Regions from separate parts of the Homo sapiens genome. Here region 2 is linked to region 1. Evidence: promoter capture Hi-C in 16 types of primary human blood cells and fetal thymus (Javierre and others, 2016). All regions are on one chromosome and are shown on one strand. Each heading gives the region's core, a stretch centred on a gene start or on the middle of the fragment in contact. The rest is flanking DNA. Distances are from core to core; before and after follow the strand shown.

Region 1 (3,874 bases), core at 266-2,765:
ACTTTTCTCTTCCTATTAGAGAGGGAGTAGGGTGTGGAGAAAACTCCGGCTCCTGATGTCCCTGAGTCAGGGGACGGTTGCTGACTGTCTGTGGGAGGGTGTGTCTCACACTTCTGAGGGTGTGAAGAATTTTTCCAACCCATGCACTACAACAGCCATTGACACATACAAAGTGAGTCACTGTGTGGGGGTGTGGGGTGTCCCTTTGACTATATTCTAGGTGGTCCGGGTGTGAGTGTCTGCCTTTACTATGAGAGTGTGCATGCCTCCTGGAGATGTCAGGGAGCCTGAGTGTGGCATTGGTGGGGACAGGTAAGTGTGAATGAGTATGCTGTGGAAGGGGCACAGAGCCAGACACTTCCTCTGTGTGTGTTGGGCGGGGAGAAGAATTAATGTTTAAATGAGCCCCATACCCATCTGCTGGCAGAACCACCCAGATATAGTGTGTGTGTGTGTGTGTGCACGCGCGTGTGCTGGGGTGCCATCTCTGTGAAGATGTGTTTACACACGTCTAATGATTGTGCTGTGTGTGTGTGCAGGTGTGGGAGATTGCCACGGCGCAGCATGCCTCTGAGTATCCACGAGCATCCTGCGCTTTGCGTGGGCTAGCCTGTGCTCCCGTCTCTGGGGGTCAGGGTTGTGGCAGTGCTGGGTGGCCGGGCCTGGGTTTGGGCTAGGTCTGAGAACCATGCAAACGGGAGAAGCCTTGATGTGTGGGTGGTGGGTAGCGAGAAGGAAGCAGGCTGGGACGGGGCTGTGGGAGGCGAGCCTCAGAGACCCTCCTGCTCTTGGTTTTAGCTCCAATCCAGGGCCTCTTCCCTGACTCCTTTCTTTGCCCCACTGGCCTGGGCGCTGCCCAGCTCCTAAGGGGCTCTTCAGGGCCAGTTCCGGGGCGGGGCCGGGAGGAGGGAGGGTGTTAAGCCACGCAGCGGTCAGGACCAGGGGCAGCTCCCATCGCAGGGAGGGGCGGGCTTGGCCCCGCCCGGCGGGGAAGCGGGGACTCTCCGGATGGGAGACTGGACGCTTCGCCGAGGGTGGGCTAGGAACGCCGAGAGTCAGCCCCAGGGAGCGCCAGGGAACTGCACCTGTCACCGAAGGGCGGGACGGGCGGCTCCGGGACAGGAAGGTCCCGACCGGGTGAGGCGAGGCAGGCAGCGGAGGATGCTCCGGGGACAGCGATGCCCGGACTGGAATGCAGGGGCTGCCTTGGAGCCAGGATGCATGGGGTGAGGGGTGTGAGACACCGGGCTGGGATGCACCACGGGGAGGAACGCGCTGGGTCTGGGATGCTCCCGGACGGGGCGTCCCAGAGACCGAGGCAGCCTCGTACCTTGCAACTCGCGGGTGAGCTCCACGCTGGGCTTGGCCATGGCGGCCGCTGCTGCTGAGGCTGCTGCAGAGGAGCCGCCGCCGCCGCCGGGGAGCCGCGGCACATGCTAGACCCGGCTTCAGCAGGGCCCGGGCGCTGAGCGCTGCAGCAGCGGCCGAGCCCGCTCCGGTCAGGGGCGGCTGCTTGAGCGCTCCTCCCCCCGCCTCGGAGCGCCGGCTCCCCCGCCCAGCAGGGAGAGCTGCCGGACTGAGCATGCGCTCCGCGCTGCCGAGCCGCGTGAGACCCCGCGCGCGCTCGCGCCGACCCTTCTCGCTGGCTCCCGCGTGAGCTGGCCGGTGTGCGTCGCCCGGTGTCCGGGCCTTCGGGGCGGGGGGCAGCGTCCCCGCTTTCCATCTACTCAATCCTCGGGCCCGTGGGCAGAAGCCATTTCTTTTGTTTGTGGGCCCGGGCACCTTGCAGGGCCTTTCTCTATTCCCCACCGGCTCAGGACCCCTCCAGCTTGTCCTTGCTGACTCGGGACCTAGGGCCATGCTGGGAGAGGGCATGGCTGGATCTGGGAGGCGAGGGGCGGGGAGGTGTTAGAGAGTTCCTCCTTCCCCACCCTCGCCCGACTCGCCCTGCCTCGGGGATCCCCGTGGCGTCCTGGGAGTTCCTGTCCCACCTTCCTTCCAGTTGGCAGCTCTGCAGACACCTCCACCCCTGAACATCACGCTCAGGTCCTGGAGACAGGGAGGAGGGCTGGGGGATCCAGAGATCCAGCCTGGCCAGACTTCTGCTCTCTGCTCAGCTAAGCACCCCGCACTGAGAAAACGTCGATTCGATTCAAAGCCGCGCAATCATCTGCATTTTATTTGCACCTCATTTGCAAGTTGTTAATTTGCAACTCTGCTCCTTCCACTCCAGCTTCCTTCTCTCTCATCTCCCCTCAAATTCCCCAGTGGCCTGGGCAAAAAATATCTTGGTCTTTGCCAAGGTAGACTCAGCCTTGTCAGCAGGCCTGTCCTGTGTTCTCAGGGGAGGCCTTTACCCAAGGCCACAACAACAGCAGGAATCCCGAGTAAGACACCACCTTGACGGCAGGGAAGGCTGGATCTTTTCACAGGGCAGAACTGATTTGATGAGGTGAACAGTAAGGTGAGCAGAGGTGGGAAAGGCCAGTGGGTGAATGCAGGAACAGCACCAGGAGCTAGAGCCCAACTCTGGCCTGTGGGCTGTCTCCGGGTCCTCAGAGGCGGGACGGGGTTCCTCCACCCACCATCACTGTTTCCCCAGTGAGGTAGCTGGCATCTTCAGAGCACAGGAAAGACACGATGCCAAGAGAATCCTCTGGCTCGCCTAACCTGGGGAATAGGGGAAGCAAGGAAGGGAGTAAAAATCAAACAGGTCTGCCTCCCTCACCTGGGACACGGGGAATGAAATTTGCTTAATCAAGAATTATCAGATAACTTTTCAGGATCAGTGTACAAACTTTCCGCCTATCAAATAGGGTTACCATGAGGATATGCTGTTATAATTTAGTATAAGCATACTGTACTCTGCAAAAACCATTACCCATAATATTCAAATACTATAGAGACACTGTTTTTTAGAGAGCTCAGGACACCAAAATCCAAAGTTATACAGGTAAAATAGTAATTATTTCATACTTCAAAAAAATGGTTTCACATGTGCACACACTAAAGTATCAGGGAGTCTGTGTGACAGTAAATGGTGTGTTTAAAATGATTCCATTTGTACAGGTTCAACTTAGAGACAATTTTTTCAGGAATCTATACTTGTCCCTTAAAGTCAGGATCATTTGGTGAGAATGTGCTAATTCTTATTTTATCAGTGACTGCATAGTTAGGAGACACTTTAATCTGCCTGCCATAGAATGCTCTAGAGGTGGGCAGAGTAACTCAAACCTAGAAGGGCTGAATTAATGCTTCTCCATTCTAGCTGTACCTTGCAATCATTTGAGAGGCTTAAACAAAAAAAGAAAAGAAAAGACAAAGAAAAACAAAACCCTAGATGGTCAAGTCCTACCTTGGACCAATTAAAAAAGAATCTTTGGGAGTGGGTGGGGCCTGAGCACCTGCAGTTTAAAAAGCTCCCCAGGTGATTCTAATGTGCATCCAGTATTGAGCTACATGGGCTAGATCATTCACTGGAGCTCTAGGTTGACAATCCCCTGACTTATTAATGAGTTATGAACTAGGCCTGTAGCTCATGCCTGACATCAGAATGGCTTTGGGAAGATTTGGGATGTCTGGACCAGTACGGAATTAGGCATTGCTGGCATTTGTCCTTGAGGGACAAGATGGAGAAACTAGATAGTGCCCAGAAGCCAGAAGGTAGAGAGAGGCAGGGAACTTAGAGGAAAGGGAGCCCGACAAAGGTGCTTGAACAGTTCACCCAGCTCACTGGGGAAGAAAGTAACTCCTTAGGCAAGGGGAGTTTGGGGCTTAGTAAAACTCTTCATTCTTTTCATTTGGATTGTAGATCATCAACCTGAGTTTTGTAAACATGTGTCATTATTCAAGGGGACTAAAAAAGCATGGTTTT
Region 2 (3,946 bases), core at 411-2,910, 450 kb after region 1:
AATTCTGCTACTAAGAGGCACTGAGACGTGGCTGAAGGACATAGGGTGAGAGAAGGGTTTTCCTCCTGTTTCCAGCTCCTGTCAATGTCCCTCCAGGAGGACTCTAGCCTAGGGCTTAGCAAACTTTTTCTGTAAAGAGCTGGACATGAAGTAGTTTAAGCTTTGCAGGCCATATGGTCTCTGTTATAACTCCTCAACTCTGCCATTGTACTGCAAGAGCAGACATAAACAATATATAAATGAATAAGGATGACCACATTGCAATAAAACTTTATTCATGGACACTGGAGTTTGAGTGTTTTATAATTTTCATGTGCCATGAGATATATCTTCCTTTTCGGTTTTATTTTCAGCCATTTTTAAAATATGAAGAATATTCTTTTTTTGTTTGCTTGTTTTTTGAGATGAACTCTTGCTCTGTCACCCAGTCTGGAGTGGAGTGGCGCAATCTCGTCTCACTGCAACCTCTGCCTCCCGGGTTCAAGCAACTCTCCTGCCTCAGCTTCCCAAGTAGCTGGGACTACAAGTGTGCACCACCATGACTGGCTAATTTTTTTTTTTTTTTGTATTTTTAGTAGAAACAGGATTTTGCCACATTGGCCAGACCGGTCTCGAATTCCTGACCTCAGACCATCCACCCGCCTCGGCCTCCCAAAGTGCTGGGATTACAGGCGTGAGCCCCGTGCCTGGCCAAAATGTGAAGAACATTCTTAGCTCGTGGGCCATGGAGAAACAGGTGGCAGCTGGATTTGGCCTATGGGCAATAGGTTGCCCGTGCTAGCTCCCAATTCTTCAGACACTCCTGGCAGCAGGTGAACTGCACCTCCTGGAGATACCAGCGCCCCAGAGGCTCAACCCCATCACAATGCATCCTCATTCTGTGGTCTGAACATGGGCCAGGCAAGGCTGAGCCTGGAGGCTCTGGTGGCCCCACTTCTTCTCTTCTGTCCCTCCAGCCCTGAGAAGGAACTCCTGTAGTTACCATATCTGGTCACTGCAGCATCTCCATTTGCCCTTCCAACCCTCCAACACTGGAGTAGTCAATTCCCTGAATACATCCCTTCTGTAAGAAATGCCTTGCATGGAATCGTTTTCCTGCTTGGACTCTGACTGACACAGAAATCCTTCCATTTTAGGGAGGGGAAGAAGAAAAGGAAGCCAAAAGGGAGAAGTCAAAGACTGAAGAGGCAAATTAGGAGTGTCCCCACACTGAAGGGAAAAGAAGCTCAGGAAGAAGGTCCTGGGGAGCAGCAGTTGCCACTGCTGAGAGGTGAAGAGGATGCCTGCGAAGAGGGTGATGAGCTGAGGAACTTCCAGAAGTCATCCTCAGGGGGTGGCAGGGGCCCGGGAGCTGGAGGCAGACAAGACACAGCCTCCTCTTGTGAGAGTTTGTGAGAGGCAGGGTCTGAGGCAGTCCCTTGTGATGCAGGAGAGAAGCATGGAGATGGCTCTGCCCGTGTCAGGACTGTCAATCCTCCCAGTTGGCAAACACATGGAACCCGGGGGTAGCCACCTTCCCTCCTGACTCTCTCCCTCCCTACACTGCACTTTCCTGGCCCTGCCTCTGATTACAGAACACACCTGGGCACTGGCTGAAGTTCCCTGCTCCTGCAGATATTCTTGTGGGTAAGCAAGCACAGGTGAATTACCAGGGATGCCCCTCCAAGAGCTGTCTTGTGAGCACAGAGGATTGTGGGTGTTTTAAACGTCTTCATGACATTAATTAATCCAGCAAATATTTATTCACCACCACCTGTGTGCTAGGCACTACTCTAGGTGGTATTGATACAGCAGTGAGTTAAAAAAATGCCTTCAAGGTGCTTATATTCTTGTGGGAGAGACAGGTAATAAACAAGTAGACATAAAAATGGCAGGTGCTGAGAAGTGCTCTGAAGAAAAATACAACAAGGTGAGGGGGACAGGGAGTGCAGGATGTGAGTGATTTTTTTCTCTGGCCCATATCAGGATGGCCTCTCTGAAGAGTTGACAAGTGAGCAGAGGCTTAAATAAGTGAGAGTGAAGAATGTTCCAGGCAGTGGGAAAAACCAAGGCAGAAGCAGGAGGTAGGAGAGTGTTTGGCATAGTTCGAGGGACAGCAAGGAGGCTTAGTGTACCTGGAGTAAATAGGCTGAAAGAGAGGGATAGGAACTAACTCAGAGAGGGTTAGGCTTTGAGTCACGATGAGGACTTAGCTGTTACTCTGAGCAGTGGGTTTGAACACAGAAGTGACACATCTAATTTTCATGTAAAAGATTGACCATGACAACTATGGGGAGAAGAAACTGCAAGATGACCCCTCCATTCTCAGAATGATGTTACTCTTCTAAAAATAGAGCTAGAAAGTCATATCCCACAAGTGTAGGTTGGTGCTCAAGTGGCTGAGTACAAGAATAATAGAAGAAAAGCTGTGAGTCAGAGTTGGCCACAACCTAAACATGAATTAGGAGTGTCATGCCACGGGGAAAACTCAAAAGGCAGACAACCCTGGGATGTGTTGGTATAGCCATGGGACACGCAAAGACTGGGACACTGACTTTGTGCGTGTTCAGCATAAGTGGGCTTCCTGCCATGCCTTCTGTTTGCAATGCTTCCCACCTGTCCCACAGTCTAGGCTGTACACAGGCCTGTCTCCCTCCACAAGCACTTCCTCCCAGTGTTTTTCCTTCCGTCTGTGTCTTTTGTGCTGTCATTCGGTCAGCAACTACCATGTATAAAACTTAATGAGCAGTGCCATGGGAGAGTCTCTGATAAGTGCTTGGAGCTCAAATCCTTTGTTAATTGTATCTAGACAGCTATGTCTGCTGTTGGCACAAATCTCTCTTGTTGGCCCCTTCAAGTTTATCCTCTAACTGTGGGCTTTTCTCCACCTCTTATAATTGTACTCTTGGTGGATTTTCCTATTTATGAAGCTCTATTGGAATATATGCCCTGCCAGAGAAAAGATCTTCTCTACTGTCAAGAATCACTGGTTTCAGTTGGGTCAGGACTGACAACCTAGCCTCTGTGTGTAGACAAGTGAAGACAATCAGGGCTAGGGTTGGCAGAATTGTGCAGGGAGTCGATATGTCATCTTCAACACCTGTACATTCACCTCTAAGCAGGGCCCTTTTTTTCTGGCAAGCTAAGGCCCTATGTGAATCAATGCAAGGCTTAAGCTTGAAGTACCTATAGCCAATCCCTGTCCCCTTTCCTGACAGGTAATGGCATCCAGAAAGAATGAAACCTTGAAGCAGAAGACATTGGGTGGCTGAGTCAGGGTGTGGGACTTGAGCCAGTTTCCACTCTGCAAAGATCGGGAAACAAGCACCCTCTCCATCTTCCCCAGCCTGGAGATGCCAGCCATGAGGACTCAAAGGGGTCTCTGGCCTGGCATTCAGCCTCCTACCCCAGAGCCCCAGGGAGAGTACTGGGGACTGGAAGCACCAAGCCAAAGGCTCTGAGAGGCCACAGTGCTTGGGGATTGAGGCTCTGAGCCCAGAAACTTTGCCAGAGAGCCACATAGTAGCTCCATAACCACCAACTCCCTGGAGCTAGAGGAAAGGAATGAAGGGAGGCCAGGTCCAAGAACTCCTAGACCAGTCCTGGTGGTGCACATCCTCAGGTACTTTCCCACATAATTATCTTAACAACCTGTGAGGTATTATCAGAGGTGTTTGAAGCAGAGCAATTCCATCTTGAATAGGGGCTGGGTAAAATAAGGCTGGGACCTACTGGGGTGCATTCCCAGGAGGTTAAGTCATTCTTAGTGACAGAATGACATAGAAGTTCAGCACAAGATACAGGTCACAAAGACCTTGCTGATAAAACGGGATGCACTAAAGCAGCCAGCCAGGCTGGGCACAGTGGCTCACACCTCTAATCCCAGTACTTTGGGAGGCCGAGGCGGATGGATCACCTGAGGTCAGGAGTTTGAGATCAGCCTGGCCAACATGGTGAAACTGTATCT

Evidence for each region. Contacts are between HindIII fragments. The CHiCAGO score rates a contact against its expected background, and 5 or more counts as called.
Region 2: a contact is called between a fragment that was not itself captured here and the fragment with the promoter of CARMIL3 in region 1, in 1 of 17 cell types (erythroblasts). The highest score is 5.4, in erythroblasts.

Annotation. Positions count from the first base shown.
Region 1 is chr14:24,049,650-24,053,523 of GRCh38, reverse strand. It overlaps CARMIL3 (capping protein regulator and myosin 1 linker 3), which reads right to left and starts at 1,515. Exons shown (of 40, transcript NM_138360.4): 1 at 1,331-1,515. The coding sequence starts at 1,370. It also overlaps the pseudogene DHRS4L1. RefSeq lists an enhancer at 158-857 and silencers at 873-1,042, 1,063-1,152, 1,423-1,722. The HindIII fragment of the contact is 12,786 bases long and covers 1-3,874 here.
Region 2 is chr14:23,604,674-23,608,619 of GRCh38, reverse strand. No RefSeq gene overlaps it. Among named protein-coding and RNA genes, the nearest start is that of JPH4, 28 kb to the right of the region's middle. RefSeq lists an enhancer at 2,222-2,431. The HindIII fragment of the contact is 2,995 bases long and covers 163-3,157 here.